Regions from separate parts of the Homo sapiens genome. Here all the other regions are linked to region 1. The links are contacts of gene promoters, found by promoter capture Hi-C in blood cells and fetal thymus (Javierre and others, 2016). All regions are on one chromosome and are shown on one strand. The core of a region is centred on a gene start or on the middle of the fragment in contact, and the rest is flanking DNA. Distances in the headings are between cores, read along the strand shown.

Region 1 (3,674 bases), core at 379-2,878:
TCTCTGGGAGCCTTCCCAGATTTACCCCAACCAGTGCCCCTGTGTCTGTGCAAATATCTCCCCCAAATCTCACGTCTACTTGATGTACCCCCCAAGTGCCACCAGAATGGGGGTGTCCTCGGCATCCTGTGTCTCCCTAACACCTGCAGAAGCCAATGGATGCCAGTAAAATGGATAGGGGCTAAAGTGGGAGGAGGCCCTTTCTGCTGCAGGGGGCAGTGTGGTCTGAGCACAGACCACATCCTGGGCACATCCTAGTGCTAGGGTTCCCTAGCATCATCTGGACACTAGGATATGACGGATGCACCCCGGGTTCCCTAGGATCCCCCAGCACAGCCTGATCCAGCGTCTGGGCCCTGCTGACAAGGCTTTGAAGCTGATCCTTCCCACTCCCACTGACTCTGATTTCTCTTCTATCGCTGTCTGTGTTTCCCACTGAGTAGAGACAGCTGCTCAGCTGTGTCCCTAAGGCCAACCATCAGGGTAATGAATAAATGAATGGGCACAAGCCCTTGTACAGAACTTGCAGCACATGACCACCCAACTAGAGCACATCCTCAAAATCTGGGCCACAGATGGGGAAACGGGAGCCCAGACAGGCGGAGGAGTTAGGTGAGACTCACACATCAGAATGACAGCCTGGGTTCCAGCAATAAAGATGGTGAGCATGGCTGCCAAACACGGCATCCAGCCAAGGACTTCCCCTTGGACCAGGACACAGAAGACAAGGGAGGAGCAGAGCCCTAGCAGGATACTAAATGGGTCTATGTGACTTTAGGGACCCTCTGCTTTTGGACTAGCCTGGAACCCAGGTTCAGTCCTGCTGACCTGGCACTGGAAGGGAGGCAGGGTGCTGGCACCCACGAGCAAGCCACAGCCAAGCAGGTAAGAATTAGTCTCCTGCTGAGTTCTCATCACCCCTCAGGCCTGGGGACAGGGGGCTGGCCTCCATGGGGTGAGGAGGCAAAGTCTAGGGAAGGGAGCAGGTCCCCGTGAGGATAGAATTTACCCACCAGCCATGGACCTGATCCAGATGCAGGCACTGCGGCCTCGGTGGTAGGGAACTGGCTTCTTGGGGACAGAAGTACTGTCACCACTGGCTGAAGGCAAGGGACTGGCCCCATGAGGTGAGGGATGCCGCAGTAGCCAGCTCCCAAACAGGGTACTTGGCCCGCAGGGCGGTGCTGCAGCCTCGGGAGTAGCTGACCCCCAGAGAAACGGGCGTTCCCACCCGGCAAGAGGCCGGTCCCGGGAACAGGCGAGGTCCGGCGCCCACGCATCCCCCTCCCCCGATGGCCCCGCGTGGGGATAAGCCAACCCTTACCCAGTCTCGCGGATGGCGTTGGTGAGGTTGGCCCAGGCCACGGCGTCAGGGTGGCGTCCGTCCACCATAAGCAGCTGGCCCGCCGAGACGTCCAGGAGCACCGAGCGGCTGCGGGAGGCTGGAGGGACCTGCCCATCGCGCGCCCAGCGGCCCCCCGGCGCTGGGATCGCCCCCGCCAGGCCGCTCAGGAACGGCCCGACCAGCAGGGCCAGCACCAGGGCCAGCGCCAGCGCCCGCGTCAGCGCCCGGGCCAGGTGGCTGCCGGGGTAGCAGTACATCTGGCCCACCATGACCGCACAATGCTGCGCCCCGCAGCCCGGGTCACGTGACTGCGCTCTGCCATGGGCGGGGCCGAGGGCGGGCGGGGCCGGGCTTGGGCTGAGCCTTTCCGGGATGGGAGGGGCTGGCGCGAGGGGAGGCCTACGGGGCGGGACCCACCTTAAAGAGCCCGGCCGCCCCTTCCACCTACGCAAACCCGGTTTAGCACACTTCCCCAAGTTTTTTTTTTTTTTTTTTTTTGAGACAAGACAAAACCTCCATATGTCGCCCAGACTGGAGTGCAGTGACGCGATCTCGGCTCATTGCCACCTCCGCCTCCCGGGTTCAAGCGATTCTCCTGCCTCATCCTCCTGAGTAGGTGGGATTACAGGCGCGCACCACCACGCCCAGCTGATTTATGTAATTTCAGTACAGACGGGGTTTCGCCATGTTGGCCAGGCTGGTCTTGAACTCCTGACCTCAGGTGATCCGCCTGCCTCAGCCTCCCAAAGTGCTGGGATTACAGGGGTGAGCCACCGCGCCCGGCCAGATTTATTTAATGGTATTTGCCATTTATTTAATACAGTTATCTAATGCAGTCTTTATTCCAACTTTTCCCATTGTCCCTCAAATACCCTTTTTACATGTGTGTGGGAAAAAGCTGTCTAACTACTACTCAAAACCTAGATGCCGTCGGGCGCGGTGGCTCACGCCTGTAATCCCAACACTCCAGGAGGCCAGGGCGGGCGAGTTCAGGAGTTCAAGACCAGCCTGGGCAACATGGTGAAACCCCCGTCTCTACTAAAAATACAAAAAAGTAGCCGGACGCAGTGAGGCGCGCCTATAGTCCCAGCTACTCGGGAGACTGAGGTAGGAAAATCACCTGAGCCCGGAAGGTCGAGGCTGCAGAGAGTCGAGATTGCACCACTGCACTCCAGCCTGAGCAACCAGAATGAGACCTTGTCTCAAAAGAAAAAAAAAAAAAAAAAAACCTAGATGCAATAAAAGATTAATGCATTTGACTGTATAAATTTTTTAACTTTTTCATGTCAAAAAACTCAATAAGCAAAGTCAAAAGACATCTGACAGACCAGGAGAAACTATTTGCAACATATATCATATATATACATTACATATATATATGTATATATATCTCAACATATATCATATAATATATCAGGAACTCTTAAAATTTGAGAGGGAAGGCCAGGTGAGTGGTTCATGCCTGTAATCACAGCACTTTGGGTGGCCAAGGTGGGAGGAATGCTTGAGCCCAGGAGTTTGAGACCAGCCTAGGAAACCTGGCAAGACTCTGTCTCTATAAAATATAAAAATTAGCTGAGCTTGGTGGTGCACACCTGTAGTCCTGTTGTGGGAAACTGAGGAACGGAGAGACCAATATGAGAGAACAGGAGGATGTTTATTTCAACGTACGCACTGGCTCAGTGGATTCACATCCAAAAAGCTGAGCCTAGAACAAAGATATTGTGGGGTTTTTATAAGCAAGCTTAGAAAGGTAAAACAAAAGTAGTTAATCATATAGTGCATAACTTGTGGCCTTGCATAGCTGGTGGCCTTGTAGCTGCATCAAAAGTAAAACAAGAACTGGCTAAATAGAGAGGTTTGTAAAACATAGTCATGCTTAAGAGACCAAGGAAAGGAATAGCAATAAAATAATTTGTCTTTCTCTCTTTTTTTTCCTTCAACCTTGCTCTGGAGGCGGGCGGTGGGGTGGAGGGCGGGGTCTGGAGCCCAGTCCTCTGGCCTTGGCTTTTCGGACAGCGTTATCTTATAACTGTCCTTGAAGTGAGCTGCTAAGCAGAGGAAAACTTGTTCTTCTTCTTTTTTAACCCTTGCCTTGCCACATTCTGGGCCTTAGCTCTTACTTCTCTTGGAGTGAATATATGTAGTACTTATTATTATTATTATTTTAATTTCTGCCTCAGTCCCAGCTACTGGGAGGCCGAGGGGGGAGGATTGCTTGAGCCTAGGAAGTCGAGGCTACAGTGAGTTGCACTACAGCCTGGGCAACAGAGCAAGAAGTTGTCAAAAAGGAAAGAGAGAGAGAGAGAGAGAAAGAGAGAGAAAAGGA
Region 2 (3,674 bases), core at 588-3,087, 420 kb after region 1:
TACTTATCCCGATGATTATGCCAGTCCTTTTACTACCAGCTCCCACCATCTGGGGGCTGCTGACAAAGTGGGAACAGGGAATATTACAGGCTGGGCACTTCCTGCACGTTTTGCACACTCTCATCTCATTGAACCTTCCTCACAGCCCCAGAAGGAAGGTACCACTTTACAAAAGAGGAAACGAAAGCACAGGGAGATTGCACCGTGCTCACTTTACAAAGGAGACAATGAAAGCACAGGGAGATTGTGCTCCAGAACCCCCTCCCACCCCTTTCCAGGGAAGCTAAGGATGCCAGGGCTTTCCCTTGCTGCACAGAAATCCCTCCTGTCCATCTCCAAGGTAGAAACGGGACTTCACACCTCCTAGGCGACAAGTGTCTCCTCCTTCCCCACCTCCCAAGCTGAGAGTCAGCCCCAGGAAACCACTAGGTGCTCTGAGGCCATTTCTACTCTGCGTTTTCACTCCCTCTCCTGACAACCTCCTCTAGCACACCCAGGTTCCCTCCATCAATCCACTCCTGGCACCCCCAAATCTACCCTGAGGATAAGGTAGCTCATGACTTGTCTCCTCCCTGAATCTGCGAGTGTCCTGGGATCACAGTGGCAGTGTGGCTGTATTTAAGTGACAAAAAGTGACCCGGAGCCTGGGCAACATGGTGAAATCCCGTCTCTACAAAAAATGCAAAAATTACCTGGGCATGGTGGCTCACACCTGTAATCCCAGCACTTTGAAAGGCCAAGGCAAGTGGATCACTTGAGCCCAGGAGTTCCAGGCCAGCCTGGGCAACACGGCAAAACTCTATCTCTACAAAAAATGCAAATAATTAGCCAGGCATGGTAGTGTGCACCTGTAGTGCCAGCTACTTGGGAGGCTGAGGTGTGAGAATAACTTGAGCCCAGGAGGCGGAGGTTGCTGTGAGCCAAGATCATGCTACTGCACTCCAGCCTGGGTGACAGAGCGAGACCCTGTCTCAAAAAAAAAAAAAAAAAAAAAAAAAAAAAAAGATGTGACTCAGAGTAGTAATTTAGCGTCTAGCCTCAGTTTCCCTATCCATAAAACAGGTACAATAATACCTGCCTCACTGAACGTGGGGATGAAATGAGGTAATACTCATTTAATGAGATAATTTTCATTGTTATTTGATAATGTCTCAATAAATTGGGCTACTCTGGCTGTTACGCGGAGTGTTATTACTTCTGTAACCTTAAGGTCTGGCATAGTGTGAGGCCCACAGTCTGTTTGAATGACTGGGAGAATGAGTGAATGAGTGAATGAATGGATAAGAAGCAGCCTCTGAGAGTAGAGATGCAGGAATCAGGCTACTTGGATTTGAATCCTGGCTGGGCCTCTTACAGGATCGGACACGTCACTGTACCTCTCTGTGCCTCATTTTCTCTATCTGTCAAGCGGGCTTAAGAGTACCTACCTGGCTCGTATGTTCGGGGGAGTTAGCACGGGGCTGGCACATTGGAAGTATTTGTTAAAGAAATGAATGAGGTGCACAAGCGGATAAAGCCACCCCCACCGTAAGCCTATGTGAGGCTTAAGCGTCCTCCCAGGACTCCCCTTTGGACACATAAAGACCCCGAGGTGGGACCTCACCTTGACAGTTTTCAGCACCCGCGGGGCAGCAGCACCGAGGCGGCCCCCGCGCTCCCTCAGGGCAGCGGCCAGGGCGCCCAGAGCGCGCCGCGCCTTCTCTACGAACTCCTTCCGCGGCTGCAGCCTTCTGGCCACGAACCTGTCCAGCGCAGCGGCCGGGGTGCTGTACAAGTCCATGGCCGCCCGGCGCAGGTGCAAGGGGAAGCAGGGCTCTGGCGCGGCCTTCGGATTTCTGGTTTCGTTTTCCCGCCCGGCTCTCCGAACCACGCCCAGCTGGCCAGGTCCTAGGTCCTCGGTCCCGCGCGTGGCGTGAAACGGGGAGGGGCGCTGCAGTTCCTGTCTTCCCCAAACTTGGGAAATTCCCTGCTTTCAGTTTCGTTTCTTTCTAGCAGCTCTTGGACCTGACACCCACTTCCTGGTCCCCTTCCCAGCTACGACTTCCTCTCCTTCATCTCCTTGCTTCCAGCCGTCCCTGCAACCACCAGCTCCAACGAACTAATCACAACCTAACAAAGTATACCCACAGAACATATGGGTACATACTGAGTAACGTACTCTGAGCATTTCAGAAACGTGCAGGTTTTACATGGAAAAAAAAGGTCAGGATTTAATAAACGGAGAAGTCCTACCTCGCTGTCTGACTGAGGGATGCGTTCTAAACACCACTACCACCACCAACGATAATAAAGCACACTTGGAGACTCTCACTGACTCCTCCCAACGACCATGGTGTAGGTGCTATTATCATCACCCATTTGACAGATGAGGAAGTCAAGGTACAGAGGAACTAGGTAACTGTCCAAGGTAACACAGCTGGAAAGTTGTCTGGCTGGATTCAAACCCAGCCCAAGCCCACAGAGCTGCCCTCTTCAGAAGCCAACTCTTCCTAAATAATTTATACGTGTAATGCAGTTCCAATAAAAATTCCATCTTTAAAAACTTCAAACACACGATCTAAAGTCTGTCTGCAAGAATTAAAAATTATTTTGGAGGAGAAGGAGGAAGGAAAGTCAGTCAGTTTAGGATGGTACCTTGCACAACAATACTACATATTAAAACATTGTAAAGCTACAATAGGGAAATCCTCTTGGAATGGGCACAAAGCTAAGCGGACTGTAAGCTATAAGCTGCAGAGTGGAGATTTGAATCCAGGACCATTGCGCTTCTATCTTCATGGCCTGTCTCCTTTTTCTGCTTATTTCCTGCTGCTTCTCCACCCGGGTTCCTAGAGACTGCACACCTGAGCTCTCTTCCAGGCCTGGTCCAAGCCATAGCCTATCTCCTCCTCCCCATCTTACTAAAAAACTCCCAGGTCCTCTCTCCTGTCTGCTCCGGGACCCAGCATTTACTCTGCCTCTGAGTACACTTCAGGTAATAGTCTTAACAAGTGCTTCCTGACATCTGCACGGTAACTGAAAGGAAATAGATAGGATCAGAGTGTGAATTTCAGAGGTCATGGTCAACTAGAGGGAGAGATGCTGGGTCTGTAATATGTACACCAGCTAATATTTTGAGTAGTGAATGCTGCATCACTTGGAATATTCAAGTATGGGCAGGTTTTGTAGGTCAGGTGTTGTGGTGGGGATTTAAGTCAAGGGATTGAGCAATGATTTTCATTCTCGCCCATTAATCACAGTCTTCTTCCTGAGTCACAGGCCACTTTAGAAACTTTCCATTCAAGATAGTGGATTGAACACATGCTCAAAATTCTATTAAAATAGCAGCAAAGATATATTAAAAGCATAATGGAAATCAACAGGGTTGGAAACTGAGAAAAAGTGGAGTCAAGGGGGCGGGACATTTGAGGCATTTTTAGAAGATGGAACGCAGAAGGGTCAATATTGGGTCATGATGGTGGACTGAACATATGCATAAGCCTTCAACGTCCATCCCAGGCCTCTAGAGGTGGCAGGAAAGCGATAGAAAAACTTTAATAATGTTGCTGGGTCCTAACCAGAGGTGTCCCAGGTAAACTGGAATCTGAGATCCCTGTCAGAGATATGAGACTGGATGAAGGAGGAAATTGCAGCCAAAACACATAAAGGAGGGGGTACCTATGCAGAGTGGAAAG
Region 3 (3,674 bases), core at 492-2,991, 380 kb after region 1:
GAACTGTTCTCAACACAAATAAATGATCAATGTTTGAGGTGATGGATATCCTAACTACCCTGATCATTTCACATTGTATCCATGTGTCCAAATATCACATGTACCCCATATAAATATGCACAATTATGTAAAAATAAAAAAACACAGTAGAATGGACAAATGTGGAATATTCACATAATGGAATTGACACAACAATGAAAAGATAAACAACTGTACCCCACAACATAAATTTCATAAACATCATAGGTCAGAGAAACCACGCACTAAAGCACACAGAGCCCATGATGCCATTTATGTAGGGTTCACCCATGCATCCTGGTTTACATTCCCAGCTTTCACACCAAGAGTCCCACATCCCAGGAAACACCCCAATCTTGGATGAACTGGGATAGTTGGTCACCCTATAATTGTAAAACGTTTAAAAACAGGCAAAACGTGTCTATGCTGTTAGAAGTCAGGAGATTGCCTACCTGGGTTTGGAGGTGCTGACTGGATCGGGGGCCCAGGGCTCTGGGGGGCTGAGAATGTTTTGTTTCTGGATCTGGGTGGGGGTTACACAGTTACATTGTTTGTGGCTACCTATCAAGCTGGACACTTTGATCTGGGCACTTTTTCTGTTTTACTTCCATGAGGAAAAAAAAATTGAGAGGCAGGATAGTGTAGTGGTTAAACATGCATGCCCTCAAGCCAATTACCCAGGCTTAAAATCCCAGTTCTGACAATAGCTATTAACCAAACTTGCCTTAGCTTGCTGGCCTGGGCCAGGGCTGGGGACACCACGTGTCTAGATTTCTTTATTGAGGCACTAGCGGATGTGTGCAAGGGGTAGAGACCAAAAAGTGTGGCAGCAGCAGAGAAGGGACGTCAGCAGCTCAGGAGGCTAAGAGGATAGTATTGGGCCATCAGGACCCCCACGCCCCCAATTCTAGGGTCCTGGCATCTCCCCAGTCCCCCTTCCTCCCCAGAGGTCCAGAATTTTCAGCCTCAGTCCTGAGATTTGTGTCCACAAAACCAAATATTTCTAACTGATAAAAGCCACTCCTTCTTGCTGCGGAGAAACCACAAGGCAACCTGGGTAGTTTGAACAAAGTTCTCTAGCCTCCCTAAGTTTACTCCTCTGTACTGTGGAGAGGATAGAAGAAAATCGCAGTGAGTAATCACAGTGAATTCACTGAGCACTGCCAGTCTTTTGCTAAGAACATGATGTGCTCAAGCCTTACGATACTCTGAAGTGGGTATTATGCCTCTCCCCATTTTACAGAGTCAGAGACTGAGGCACAGAGAGGTTAAGTAGCCTGCCCAGTGTCACACAGCTCTGGAGCAAGCGCCTGCTCCAGAGCCTGAGACTCCTACACCACATCCCACCCAAGTGTGGGCCTCGCACATAATAGGCACCCAGCACCCAGTAGCTCGGCCTTGCTGCCGCCGTGGAATCTCCTGCCTCCCAGAGACCCAACCTCAGCCCTGGACTCACTATGGCCACTCCCTGCACCAGGGGGAACTGTTCGGGTTCCTGCAGGACGTCACAGATGGTGTTCACCATCTCGTCGATCAGTGTCTGACATTCTTCGTAGGGCTTCAGGTATTCCTGGATAAACCAACCCAGCTTCTGAGCAGGCACCGAGGACAGCTGGGACTCCCCATTTCCCATTGCTCTCAGCTGGCTGCCGGCAAGACAGTGAATGGTAGGATGGGAGGCAGAGGAATTCTTGCTGCTGCCCAGAGCCAGGAAACTGAAACTGAAGTCTAGAGGCCTCTCTCCACCCACTGCAGCGAGCTTACCAACTCTTGTATCCGGGACAGGGAAACAAAACTAACTTAAGCTCAGAGGCTCTGCCCTGCCCCTTGCAGTGAGTTTACCAACTCCTGCATCCGGGGCAGGGAAACCAAAACTAACTTAAGCTCAAATGCTCTTCCCCGCCCCTTGCAGCAAGGTTTACTGACTCCTGCACCCCAGCAGGGAAACCAAAACTGACTCAAGCTCAGAGGCTTTCCCTGTCCCCGGCAGCGTGGTGACCAGCCCTTCAGGGGCTCCCCAAAACTTGAGGTTAACTAAACAGCCTCTAGAACCCCATTGTGAGGGCTTCATACCTGCTAGATGTCTGTCCTTGAGCACATCGCCTGCCCTCTTCGCGCCTCAATTCCCCCATCTGTAAGCTGGGGGAAAATGGCAGCTCTCTCGTAGGATTAGCTTGATGATTAAATAATACCTGCAAAGTGCTTAGAAGCAGGGGCGCACAGGTCATCTTTTGAGGCTCTGTCCCTTTCCCCCTGTTCTCAGTGGCCAGGGAACTCACATTCAGGGAAAGCGGCAGAGAGGAAAAAGAGACCCAGAGAGGGAACTGACTTGCTCAGGGACACACAGCAAAGCAGGGACCTAGCTGGACTCAGGTTTTGGTCTGCTTCTGGGTAAACACAGGCCCCCGTGTGGTCAGCGGGTGGGAACCTCTGTGTGTCCAGTTTCTCAGCACACTTGTGGACAGCCGAGGGACCGTATGAGGCACTTGTCCAGCCTCGCAAGGGCAAGAAAACACACCCCAAGTGTGTGAGCCAGAAAGGAGACAGACATGCAACTCCTGTGCCCAGAGCTTTGAAAACAAAACTCGCAGAGGACTCCCAGCCAGCTGCCTTGGCCCAGCAATAATAATTCACAGAGAAGGCAAAAATCTCCAAGATGTAGTGGGGGACCAGGGCCCTTCCATACTGGGATGGTTAATTTTATGTGTCAAGTTGGCTGAGCCCAGGTACCCAGATATTTGGTCAAACATTATCCTAGATCTTTTTGTGAAGGTATTTTTTAAAGATAAGATTAACATTTACATTGGTAGACTTTTTTTTTGAGTAAAGTGGATTATCATCTGTAAGGTGGTGGGCCTGATTCAATCAGTTGAAGGCCTTAATAGACTAAAGACTGAGCTCCCCCAAGGAAGAGGGAATTCGGCTGCAGTGCCTTGGCCTCCACTTGCAGCAGCAACTCCTTCCTGGGTCTCCCACCTGCCAGTCTACCCTGCCGATTTTGGATTTGCCAGCCTCCACAATCACATGAGCCAATTCCTTAAAATAAATACCTCAAAATAAATATAAATACCCTGTTAGTTCTGGAAAAACCTCGATTAATGCACATGCTCATTAAGGGCCTTTCCTGCCCTTATCCAACTTTTACTGCAACACCGAGAGGTAGGCAGGCTGGGCAGGCGTAGTCCTAAGGTTCCTTTTTCAGATGAGAACATGGAGGCTCACAAAGGTGGAAACATTTGCCCGTGATCACACAGCTAGGAAGTTGTCAGGCTAGGTTCTCACACTAACACACTGCCTGACTCCAAAGCCTGTGCTTTATTTGTTATTTAAAAAAACACTTTATTTTGAAGTAATTTGAAATGCTGAGAAAATTTACAAGATGCACACAAAGAACTTCCTTAGACTTTTTAGCCATTATATTTTTTACCACATTTGCCCCTCATTTTCTTGCTATTTATACATTTTAGGAGGTTTTTGTTTTGTTTTGTTTTTGAGACAGAGTCTCACTCTGTCACCCAGGCTGGAGTGCAGTGGCGTGATTATAGCTCACTGTAGCCTCACCCTCCCAAGCTCAAGCAATCTTCCTACTTCAGCCTCCTGAGTAGCTGGGACTATAGGCATGCACCACCATGCCTGGCTAAATTTTTAAAATTTTT
Region 4 (3,674 bases), core at 392-2,891, 320 kb after region 1:
GACTTTGGGGGCTTCTTATCATTCAAGGGAGAACAGCTCTTTCTTTCTTTCTCCTTTCTTTCTTTCTTTCTTTCTTTCTTTCTTTCTTTCTTTCTTTCCTCCCTCCCTCCCTCCCTTCTTTCTTTCTTTCTCTTTCTTTCTTTCTTTCTTTCTCTCTCTTTCTCTCTCTCTCTTTCTTTCTCTTTCTTTCTTTCTTTCTTTCTTTCTTTCTTTCTTTCTTTCTTTCTTTCTCTCTCTCTCTCTCTCTCTCTCTTTCTTTCTTTCTTTCTTTCTTTCTTTCTTTCTTTCTTTCTTTCTTTCTTTCTTTCCCTTCTTTTTTTTGAGACAGAATCACTCTGTCACCCAGGCTGGAGTGCAGTGGTGCGATCTCGGTTCACTGCAACCTCCACCTCCCAGGTTCAAGTGATTCTCTTGCCTCAGTCTCCTGAGTAGCTGGGATTACAAATGTGCCCCACCACCCCCAGCTAATTTTTATATTTTTAGTAGTGACACGGTTTCATCATGTTGGCTAGGTTGGTCTCAAACTCCTGGCCTCAAGTGATCTGCTTGCCTCCGCCTCCTAAAGTACTGGGATTACAGGCATGAGCCACTGTGCCTGGTCAATATTTTTGTTTTTGATTACCCATGGCCATTATAACCTTATCTCTGTGCGAAGTGACATCTTAGCTAGAGGGTGTCCTACCCAAAACCAGGTTTTTGGGAGTCCATAGAGTTAAAGAATTAAAAGCTGAGAATTTGGAGATTGAGGGGGCCCAGAGTAGAATTCTGCCAGGCTGCTTGTTTGTGCAGGCTCTTTGGGCAAGGGACTTAACTTCCCTGGGCCTCAGTTTCCCTATTTGTAAAATGTGAATAATGGTCTTCAACTTAGAGGGCAGTTTGGAGGCATTCAGGGCTATGAGGCCCTTATCTCAGGTCTTGTCACAAGGGAAGTGAGTGCTCGGTAAATAGCAGCTGCTCTTGTCACCTTCGCCTGGGCCAGATCAGGGCCCGCAGCAGGTTCCTTCTTTTCCCTGGCCATCCCTCTTCACTCAGCCTGCAGTGAGCAGCATTGCTGGCTTCCTGGAGGAGGCCATCTCAGTCTTCTAAATCAAGCTGGACAGTGGGGCATGCATTGCCCATCAGTAGGGACATTGGGACTCAGAGCAGCTTTGAAACAGCAGGGCCCGATAGTGCCCCTGAAATGTGGTTTGCTAATGAAGTTTCTGCCTTGGCTCTGGGCCTTTCTGAACTGTTTACTGCAGGAGGACTGTGAGCCTTTAGTTGCCTGCAGGAGGAGGCAGGTAGAAGACAGTGAGGCTCCCCAGCGTCCAGCGGAGTTGAGGTCCCAAATCTTATACAGTGAGGATTCCAGGGTGTGAGCATGGGAATACTTCCTGATCAAGACCTGGGCAGTGACCTTGGGTTAGAGAGCTGCTCTGAGCCTCAGTTTCCCCCTCGGTCAGATGGAGATGAAAATACCTACCTCATAGGCAAGGATCCAATGAGGATGAATGAAAACTTCGAGCTGAGCACACAGAACACTCTAAGAGTGAGCTGCTTTTGTTCTCTCTGCTTTGGACAGGATGCCCAGGGCTGAGCCTAGCTTGCTTTGGATGAGTGAAAAATAAGATAGGGATGTAACCCAGTGTATTTAGTCCAACAGGATTTCCCAAGAGCCCTTAAGAAGAGTTATGGGCCAGGTGCGGTGGCTCACACCCGTAATGCCAGCACTTTGGGAGGCCAAGGTGGATAGATCACCTGAGGTCAGGAGTTCGAGACCAGCCTGGCCAACATGGTGAAACCCCATCTCTACTAAAAATACGCCAGGCATGATGGCAGGTGCCTGTAATCCCAGCTACTTGGGAGGCTGAGGCTGGAGAATTGCTTGAACCCAGAAGGCGGAGGTTGCAGTGAGCCGAGATTGCGCCATTGCAATTGCACTCCAGCCTGTGCGACAGAGCGAGACTCTGTCTCAAAAAAAAAAAAAAAAAAAGGAAAAGTTATGAGTTAGCATTAAGCTGGAGCTTGACCTGGGCCTGGTAAATTCAGTTGGGTGGGGGTGCAGGCTGGGGTGTTTATGCCCCAAAGGAGGATGGTGGTGTTAGGGTGGGGACAGGTGGGTTTGGTGGCAGTAGGAGACAGACCTGGAGGTGGGCGGGTGCTAGCTTTGTATGGGCTGCCCACCGTGTGATGGAGGACATACACAGGTGCTTCTGCACTGCCACACTTAGCGTGTGGGGTCGCATGCACATCACCTTGTCCTTGTTAAATGGCTGTCGCAGCTACAGACCTGATATTGCATCAAGGGCAAATAAGGGGAACCCGGGTGGTGGTGGCTGAGGCTGTTCCTTTTATCAGGAAAGTAAAAACTCTCTGAAACCTCCTAGCAGATTTCTCCATCAGTCCCATCCGTCAGCATCGCGATCCAGCACAAGGCCCCCTTTAGCTATGAAAGACTCTGAGAAGAGACTCAGGTTTTCAGCCCCTGCAGTGAGAAGCAGCAGGGGAGAAGGCGTGGGGATGGCTGTTGGGTCCATCCGTTGATTGTGTCCCTCTCAGCTATGTGAACCCCACTGGTACCTGGGGGCCACTCACTCACCTCTTCTTTCTTCTGGACTTCTACCTGAACACTCTAGGTTCTTAGCTACTGCCAGGGACAGCTTCCCAACTGTGTCACACAGAGCCCTTCAGTCAGAAGTGCCCTTGGTTAAACACTCTGGTGGTATAGCCTTAACACTTTTTGTTTGTTTGTTTGTTTGTTTGTTTTGAGACAGAGTCTCGCTGTATCACCCAGGCTGGAGTGCGGCAGTACAGTCATGGCTCACTGCACCCTCGATCTCCTGGGCTCAAGCGAGCCTCCCTCCTCGACCTCCTAAATAGCTGGGACTACAGACTCATGTCACCACAGCCACCTAAATTGTTAAATTTTTTGTAGAGATGGGGTCTCACTATGTTGCCCAGGCTGGTCTCCAACTCTTGTCCTCAAGTGATCCTCCCACCTTGGCCTTCCAAAGTGCTGGGATTACAGGCGTGAGCCACCGTGCCCAGCCAGTCTTTAAACTCTTGAGACTTTTTCAACAAGGGGTCCTGCATTTTCTTTTTGCACTGGGCCTCACAAATCATGGAGTTGGCCTTGTCTACTGCTCATGGTGCTATAGCCACTTTTTCTACGAGGCCAGAGGCTTCTTGGTTTCCTGTATATTTATGACCTTAGAGAAACAAAAGACCTCAAGATGCAAAATCATTCACCAGGGAGCAGACCATCATGGAATTAGACTGCATTCAAACCTCCCTCCTGCCGCAGTAGAGGTATGTGTGTGCTCAGCTTGGGTGTTTCTAAGTGAAGGATATGATTTTTTTTTTTGGGAGAAAAAAATGAAGACTTGATTTTTGACTCTGTTTTCTTTTTTTTTTCTTTTTCGGTTATATAGATGAGAGGTTTCTATGTTGCCTAGGTTGGCCTCGAATGCCTAGCCTTGCCTCCTTATGCGCCAGGACAATAGGCCTGAGCCACCGTGGCTCCTGATTTTGTCTCTGTTTTAAGAGTTACTAATTAATTGAAACACAATGTAAAATATGCTAATTGAAACAATGTAAAACATGTTAAATGTCATAAAAATAAGCTTCTTTTCCTTTTCTTTTTTTTTTTTTTTTTTTTGAGACAAGTTCTCACTGTGTCACCCAGGCTGGAGTGC
Region 5 (3,674 bases), core at 541-3,040, 300 kb after region 1:
CAGCATCCTACGCTGCAAGGTAGTGATGGCTCGGCGGGGCGGGTGGCATGGGGTGGGTGTCTGCTCACCTGTGTCCTGGCGAAACTGGTGCATGGACTGCAGGTCGATGATGTAGGGCACAAGCTGGGCGTCCACCTGCCCCAGGACCACGGAACCGCGAGCGTCCTCCTTCAGCACGTTCTCAATGTGGTGGCACACGGTGGCCGTGTAGGGCCGCCAGCGGCTGTGCTCATTCAGCCACTCCCACACCACCACCCGGGCCACGTTCTGCGGTGGGAAGCCCAGACCATTCACAGGCATCAGCCCACCGTGGCCTGGCCGTGACATGGCCGCCACTGCCTCAGGGGCCAGGTCCCCCACTATTGCAGGCCCAGCTCCTCCTGGGCCTGGCAGCAGGCGGCAACTTCCTCTCTCCCCAGGGGGACAGCAAGGACCGTCTGGCCTCCTTTCTAACTCTGGGTTCTCTCTGAGGCCTAGAGACCTCCGTTAAAGGAATGTGGGATGGCCATCCAGGCTGCAAAGACCCCTTCCCTGTAGAGCCTTCTCCGATAAAGGGTGCTGCCCTGGAAAGCAAGTGTCTCTCTTATGCCGGAGGAAACAGCTCTAAAGTCCTTGGCCCCCTCGGCTGGCTCAGGTAGGGAGTGAGGCAGCCGCCCCTGTTCGAGGTCCAGCCTCTTCCGTGTTGTCTCTTGGTCCCTCTTCCCCGCCAGACAGGGCCTGTCACCCAGGAGGCCTGGGCCACAGCCTGCTGCTCCTGCGGCTCTCAGCCAGCCCTTTGCACTCCCAACTGCGTCCCAGACCCTGCGCCCGGCTTCAGTGGGGCTTCTCGCCTCCCTCCGGTCTGGGCCCCCTTCTCCGACGGCTCCTGCCGAAGGGGGCGTCCCTGCCCCCTTGTTCCCTCTCCACGGTGTCCTGGAAGGCCTGGGTGGCCGCAGAACGCACGGGGGAGGGGTGCGGCGTGGACCCTCGGGCGGCGCGCCTGGACTGCGGCTCCGGAGCTGGGCTGGGGGACGAGGGGGACGAGGGGGGCGGGGGCCCGTGGGCACGCCCCACCCCACTCGTGCTCGCGACCTGCCAGGAGACAAGAGGGGAGAGGGCCCTTTAAGAGGAGAGCGCAGCACCCCCTCCCCCCTTCCCAGGAGAGCATTCGGCTGAGAACAATGGGGAACCGAAGGGGGACAGCAAGGGGGGCGTACGGGGTCGCCCCGCCCGCTTTCCCTTGGGGCAGGCCTGGAGGGAAGGCAGGGGCCGGGGGCGCGGTTTTCCGAGACTCTCCGCCTGGGGGGCGCCCTCCTTGGCTCCCGGAGCCTTCCCTTCCCCCGGGGCCCTCGCCCTGCCGGGGGGATGCCGGGTGCGCTGGGGTGCGCCGGGAAGCACGGGGATGCGCGGCGCTGCAGGCGCGGCCCAGGGCCCCTCGGGGGTCGCGTCGCGGAGGGGGCGAAGCCAGGAGCTGGATCGTCTCTGCCTCCCGCCCTGGGGGTAACAGCCCCGCTTCCCCAGCCCAGACGTCCCCGAGCCGCTCGCGGGCCCCCAGCGGGAGCCGGGGGTGGGGTCCCTAAGCACCCGCGTTCTCACCGCCTCTCTTCGTCTCCGGCTCCGGCTCCGGCTCGCGCTCCAGCACCGCCGCCTCCTGGGCTCCCCCCGGAGTGGGAGGGAGCCGCGGTCCCGCCTCCGCGCCCGTTCCCTCCCAGGCCCCTCGGCCGCCGCGCCGAGCTTTCCGCGCGTGGACAGACTGCCCGGCCGACGGACGGACGCAGGAGCCGGCTGGCGGCCGCCGGGATCTCGCGGGTGGGAGGAGGCCTCGGCCGTGCTCCGGGAGGGAGAGGGGAGGGGGCGGAGGAGGAGGAAGGGGAGGAGACAGATCTCGGCCCTGAGCGCCACCGGCGCTGACACGCGAGTCTCGGGGCGCCCCAAATCCTCGGCCAGGCCCTCCCGAGACCCCAAGGGGCCTTCTGACCCCAAGCAGAGCGTGAGGCAGGGAGTGGGATGTTTAGGAGTCACCGGCTTGAATCTTTGTCATCTTTATTTCCAGTCTCCCAGTCCAGGGCCTGGCACTGAATAGGTGCTCAATAAATGCTTGAATGAATGAATAAGATCCAGAGACTGTCTAAAGAAAGATCTTGAAGCATTCAGAGCTAGCCTCCTTTCCTCCTCTAACTATTCCTGGGGGTGGGAGGGTGCTGACAAGGCCTGATTCAGACTCAGTTGGAACCGTGGAATCTGAAGAGTACAGATGAGGAGACTGAAGCCAGAGAGAGTAAGAGCCAGGCCCAGGATCACAAAAGCTTAGAGCGATGCCCAGACACCAACCCCGATCTGAATCTCCTGCCAGTACCCAGTTCCCAGCCCTGAGCCCACTTCCCCCAAAGCACCCACCTGCTCCAGGTGAGAGGGGTGGGACCAGGGGAGGGGACCCTGGCCAGGAGGTGAGATCCTGGAGGAAGAGAAGGGCAGGCCCTCTGCCATGTCATTCACAGCCACCTGCAAACAACTGGTGCTCAATAAATGGTGGGTGAGCATTGGTTGGATGGAAGGGAAGGCTGGAAATGGCAGCGGCTCAAGTGTTAACGGGATGGCCAGTCCCCCTGTCCTCCAGCAAGCTGGATGCGGCTGAGACACACATTGGCTGGGAGGGGGGTGGACCACCTGGGGCCTGGGGGTGTTTAGATTGGGGAAGATGAAGGATGCGTCCGGGAACTCCAGCCTGGGTGGCTGACGGGGGTCAGTGGCCTGTTTGGGCGCCTGCCCAGAGCAGCCCACGCCTGCCTCCCCGGGGCAGATGGGGATACACTAGGCAGGGTCAGGGGCAGGCTGCTCAGGGGTGCTTTCCCAGAATCCAGCTCTGGCTCTCCGGCCAGCTGGAGGGACCTCCCCTCCCCAGGCCCCTGCTCTGACCTGCAGCCCAGTGTTGGATGGGCTTTTTCAGATTGGGTCAATGATTCTGCTTGCTTTCACCTGCTGTAGACTAAAGAGAGAGGCTTTGCATAGGGCAGGGCCAAGTCTGACGATACTCCCACAGGATCACTGAGTTCTGGGATTTTAGCCTAGGGTCCCTGGATGGCCTTCTGGGGTCCATGAAGTCCCCCTCTCCCATTACAGGCAAACTTGTGTGTCTAGGCATTGTGTGTCTTGTATGTCTGGGAAGAAGGGCTCTGGCTGTCAGCAGATTCTTCTCACAGGAGACTGTGACTGAACGGATTCAGAGCAGGTGCTCAACCAGCTTATGTTGTAGAAGGATCTGGGGATCCCACAGTGGAGAAGAGATTGGCTCAAGGTCGCATGGTGATTTAGCAGCAAATTGGAAAGAAGAACTCGTGTCTCTGGACTTCCTGTCGAATGCTATTTAAGGTCTGATTAAATGTCACCTCCTCCAGGAAGCCTTTCCTGAATTCACCCCATCTTCCTCTGTGTTCCTTTGCCCATACCTTGACATGACACCCTGTATCACAATTAGCCTCTTAAATGAAATCTGTCCCTGCTAGAGTGAGATAGCCATCATATTCATCTTGGTGTGGTGTGGCTGGTGCCCCATTACATAAGGGTGTCATTTACTGAGTGCCTATTATGTGCCAGGCACTTAAATAATACTTACTACTCTTCATAACTGCCCCACAAGGAAGGTAATGTTGTCCTCATTTTACACAAGGAAACAAAAAACCTCCTGAAGCTCAGAA
Region 6 (3,674 bases), core at 607-3,106, 260 kb after region 1:
CAATCGCTGGCATCCCTTTAAATCTTGGCTGACTCCCACCGTGGCAGCCAATCAGCAGAGGCGGAGCTGGTGAGTTGCCTGGGCAACAGGCCCCTGGTTGGCCGAAGACAATTAGCCACCCCACTGCCCACTCCCAACGAAAGGGAAATTGACTCTCTGCTGTCCACTCTGCTTTAAAATACATCGGCCCAAACTAGGCCTCCTCCTTTCGCTCCTGAAGTCAGAAGCGCCAGCCTTTGGCTCTCAAAATTGGGAGCGATTTGGTGGAGAGGATGGGGTAGGGAGGATGGGAGAACAGCGCCTTTATCTGGGACAGACAGAAGGCCTGGAGATGGGAAGGGAGAAGGAGATCAGAGTCCAGAGAGATGAAGAGGCACAGACACAAAATCAGGACCCTCTAGTCCCCGCTCGTGCTGGCCATTCTTTTGTAGAACTGCTCAGTCATCTGGGGGCTTCCACCCCATGGGCCCACAATTGCCCAATCAGTGGGTGGCAGACATGGGTGATGACACGGAATGGGTGAGGCATCTGGGGTACACTGAGTTTCCCGAGTCCCTCTTTGCCCCCCGAGCCCTGGCAGGCCCCTAAGGGCTTGCCCCGCATCCTCCAGTTTGCAGACAAGGCTGTACAGATGCAACTGAGACACAGATGGGGATCCACATGGGGGGGTCATGGGGTCTTTCTGTCTCTTCTCTTCCAGCCTGGGGGCAAGTACAGGCACGTGGGTGTGCGTGCATGAGTTCAACAGGACATGTGTGTTTGTGTGTGAGGGGGCGGGTCTCTGTCTTTTTGGTAGGGAGGTTTCCAGTACTCTCTGCTTGGCCCTCTCAGGGAGCTATGATTCGGGGCCAGCCTGACATGCCATCTCTCTTCATCCCAGCTGCCACCAGGCAGGTCCCCTGAATGGCTGCGGCCCCTTCCGCAGGCTCCTCCCCAGCCCTGAACCTGGGCTACCAGGACACACCTGGCGAAGGAGGCATTTGCCGGACCAGGGGCAAAGCAGGAGGGAAGGTGGGCAGCCTTGGGCCTCAAGCCTTGGCTGCAGCCTCGGATACGCCCTGGGCTGTGAGCTCAGCCAGCACGTTGTCTAGGTAGCTAGCGTCCGGGTAGCCGTGGCCCGTGAGGTTGGATCCAAACTCGGTCTTGTGGTGGATCTCGTTCCACACCACGGTGTCCGACTCGCCCGTGGTGTTGGACGTGCCGATAGTGAAGATGAGTCTTCTCTCCCAGGCCGTGATGAGCAGCCGCAGCACCTGGGGGGACAGGGACACAGTGGGGCCGGGAGGAGGTCACAGGCAGCTTCCAGCCCACCAGCCTCAGCCTCCCTCCCTCCCCTGCCACATCATGGCTACCTTATGGCTTCGTCCATTAGCACCAACTACGTACTGCTGGCTTGGCCATTTCCTTTGCATTTGTATTTCCTGAACTTCCAGTAAAAGCTCTTTCCAAGTTACTTATGTTTGTTTTTTCTTTTCTTTTCTTTCCTTTTCTTTTTTTTCTTTTTCTTTTTTTTTTTTTTTTTTTTTTTGAGGCAGAGTCTTGCTGTGTTGCTCAGGCTGGAGTGCAGCAGTGCAACCAGAGCTCACTGCAGCCTCGAACTCCTGGGCTCCAACAATCGTCCCACATCAGCCTCTCCAAGTCTCACTATGTTGCCCAGATTGGTCTCAAACTCCTGGCCTCAAGTGATCCTCCCACCTCGGCCTCCCCAAGTGCAGGGATTACAGGTGTGCACCACTGCGCTTGGCCTGCCTGTTTTTTTTTTTGTGATGGAGTCTTGCTCTGTCACCCAGGCTGGAGTGCAGTGGGGTGATCTCGACTCAGTGCAACCTCTGCTTCCTGAGTTCAAGCAATTCTCCTGCCTCAGCCTCCCAGGTAGCTGGGACTACAGGCGCACTCCACCACTCCGGATAATTTTTGTATTTTTAGTAGAGACGGGGTTTCACCATGTTGTCCAGGCTGGTCTCAAACTCCTGATCTCGTGATCTGCCCGCCTTAGCCTCCCAAAGTGCTGGGATTAGAGGCATGAGCCACCACACCCGGCCCTGCCTGTTTTTTTCTGGGGTGAAGAAAGCATCTGGCAGCTCTCTGCTCTATTTAGTTTGGACTCCACACTATATTAAAGAGCCACTTGTAAATTAGTTACTAACATTCAAAAGCCTAGAGATTTCCCATGAAAATCTGGATTTCTTGGTGCTCTTGAAAAGCAGAAAGTCAAATCAGACAACCTGTAGGGTGGTGGTGACAGCTTGGACTGCCTGGGCTCAAATCCCAGCTCCGCCACTTAGTTTCTCTGTGACCACAGTCAAGTGACTTGCCCTTTCTGAAGCCTTGTGTCTTTGTCTATAAAATGGGGTCAGGATCTTGACCTCAGTGGCTCAGGAAACGAGATAAGATGTGTGAAGGAGGTGGCTGTGGTCGTTACTGTTCGGGTGCTGCTTTTGGGAGGAATGTGAGAGCAGGGATTGGGAATGATGGGGACCACAGGCCCAGGCCAGTGGTTGCTGGAGCCCCTGCCTGTGCCTATCTCCCATGCCCTCACGGCTGGGCACCCACCTTCCGGCCTTTCTCGTTGTTGGGTAGATAGCAGTGGCGAGGGAATCCTCTTGCGGTGAACTTCTTCCCGGGGTTGGGGTGCTCAGGGCCCTGCAGAGAGGGACAGTACAGGGATTTAGACCATGAACAGGTGGTGGCAGGGTGGAGAAGCATCTGGAGGAGTTGGAGGGGTGTGGGGGCTGGGGGCCAGAGAGGCGGAAGGGGAGCCCACCTGGATGCCTGTGGGGATGTCATAGACGATGCGGATGGTCTGGGTATCAGGGAAGCCGGGCAGCGAGTGGGGGATGAGGTGGAACTCCATCTTCCCAGGCGGCTGCGTACCCGTCTTCTCCCCGTAGATGGCCTTGCAGGTGGGGCACTGCAGGCTGCCATCCTGGGCAGGGGAGGCTGGCAGTGAGTTCCCAGCACCCCCCCAAACCCCACTCCGTTCCCTGCCCACTCCTCAGCCATTGTCCCGCCCAACCCACCTTGTTGCCATTGGAGTACATGGCCACGAGGCACAGCAGGTGGTACATGTGGCCACAGCGGCCCAGGCGGCCCACGAGCTCAGGCCGCACGCCCTTGTGCCGAAGCACGCCCTCGTAGCCTGATGCTGTGACCAGTCGCTCCATGCAGATGGTGCAGTCCTGCAGGTGGCAGCAGGGGAGACTGAGGACTGGGGAGGGCAGGGCACCTACTGGGTCAGCACTGCCCCTTGGTGGGTCACCATAGGCAGCAGACCACACTCTCTCTGGTACCCATTTGGCAAAGGGAGACAGGACACACCCTCTGCCCCATACATTGTTTTATTTTCTTTTCTTCTTCTTCGTTATTTTATTTATTTTATTTATTTATTTTTATTAAGAGACAGGCTCTGTTGCCCAGGCTGAAGTGCAGCAGTGCAATCATAGCTCACTGCAGAGTCAAACTCCTGGGCTCAAGAGATCCTCCTGCCTCAGCCTCCTACGTAGCTGGAACTACAGGGATGAGCCACTGCACCCAGCCCCTTCCCATATATTGAATTCTGATATATCACAGAGGAAGATGGCTCCCCTCACCACCCCCCAGGTGAATTAAGGGCTTAACTATCAAAAGCAAAACTTAAAAACATTTAGTGGAAAATATGGGTGAAAATGACACAA

The links. The method cuts DNA at HindIII sites, captures the fragments that hold promoters and counts their contacts. A CHiCAGO score of 5 or more calls a contact.
Region 2: a contact is called between the fragment with the promoter of OAS3 here and the fragment with the promoter of PLBD2 in region 1, in 4 of 17 cell types (total CD4 T cells, activated CD4 T cells, naive CD8 T cells and 1 more). The highest score is 7.0, in total CD4 T cells.
Region 3: a contact is called between the fragment with the promoter of OAS2 here and the fragment with the promoter of PLBD2 in region 1, in 5 of 17 cell types (naive CD8 T cells, activated CD4 T cells, total CD4 T cells and 2 more). The highest score is 6.8, in naive CD8 T cells.
Region 4: a fragment that was not itself captured here is called in contact with the fragment with the promoter of PLBD2 in region 1 in 2 of 17 cell types (naive B cells and total CD4 T cells); the score reaches 5.6 in naive B cells.
Region 5: a contact is called between the fragment with the promoter of DTX1 here and the fragment with the promoter of PLBD2 in region 1, in 4 of 17 cell types (naive CD4 T cells, activated CD4 T cells, naive CD8 T cells and 1 more). The highest score is 7.2, in naive CD4 T cells.
Region 6: a fragment that was not itself captured here is called in contact with the fragment with the promoter of PLBD2 in region 1 in 1 of 17 cell types (fetal thymus); the score reaches 5.2 in fetal thymus.

The regions. Positions count from the first base shown.
Region 1 is chr12:113,356,541-113,360,214 of GRCh38, reverse strand. PLBD2 (phospholipase B domain containing 2) reads right to left here and starts at 1,628. Exons shown (of 12, transcript NM_173542.4): 1 at 1,325-1,628. The coding sequence starts at 1,614. It overlaps LOC105369989 (a long non-coding RNA gene), which reads left to right and starts at 705. Exons shown (of 3, transcript XR_945346.3): 1 at 705-885. RefSeq lists an enhancer at 370-869 and silencers at 1,205-1,264, 1,315-1,814. The HindIII fragment of the contact is 3,133 bases long and covers 1-3,091 here.
Region 2 is chr12:112,936,637-112,940,310 of GRCh38, reverse strand. It overlaps OAS3 (2'-5'-oligoadenylate synthetase 3), which reads right to left and starts at 1,837. Exons shown (of 16, transcript NM_006187.4): 1 at 1,604-1,837. The coding sequence starts at 1,780. RefSeq lists enhancers at 1-120, 1,119-1,288, 1,712-1,881, 1,845-2,154, 2,049-2,218 and a silencer at 1,535-1,624. The HindIII fragment of the contact is 11,275 bases long and covers 1-3,674 here.
Region 3 is chr12:112,976,586-112,980,259 of GRCh38, reverse strand. OAS2 (2'-5'-oligoadenylate synthetase 2) reads right to left here and starts at 1,741. Exons shown (of 10, transcript NM_002535.3): 1 at 1,475-1,741. The coding sequence starts at 1,651. RefSeq lists enhancers at 577-726, 837-916, 1,087-1,166, 1,387-2,196. The HindIII fragment of the contact is 12,087 bases long and covers 1-3,674 here.
Region 4 is chr12:113,035,414-113,039,087 of GRCh38, reverse strand. No RefSeq gene overlaps it. Among named protein-coding and RNA genes, the nearest start is that of DTX1, 19 kb to the left of the region's middle. The HindIII fragment of the contact is 3,927 bases long and covers 1-3,604 here.
Region 5 is chr12:113,054,846-113,058,519 of GRCh38, reverse strand. It overlaps DTX1 (deltex E3 ubiquitin ligase 1), which reads right to left and starts at 1,790. Exons shown (of 10, transcript NM_004416.3): 1 at 1,576-1,790; 2 at 69-1,071. The coding sequence starts at 327. RefSeq lists an enhancer at 1-552. The HindIII fragment of the contact is 5,893 bases long and covers 1-2,287 here.
Region 6 is chr12:113,094,294-113,097,967 of GRCh38, reverse strand. DTX1 (deltex E3 ubiquitin ligase 1) reads right to left here. Exons shown (of 10, transcript NM_004416.3): 7 at 3,021-3,179; 8 at 2,765-2,926; 9 at 2,554-2,643; 10 at 1-1,253. The coding sequence ends at 1,029. Among named protein-coding and RNA genes, the nearest start is that of DTX1, 39 kb to the right of the region's middle. RefSeq lists an enhancer at 1-476. The HindIII fragment of the contact is 6,635 bases long and covers 1-3,674 here.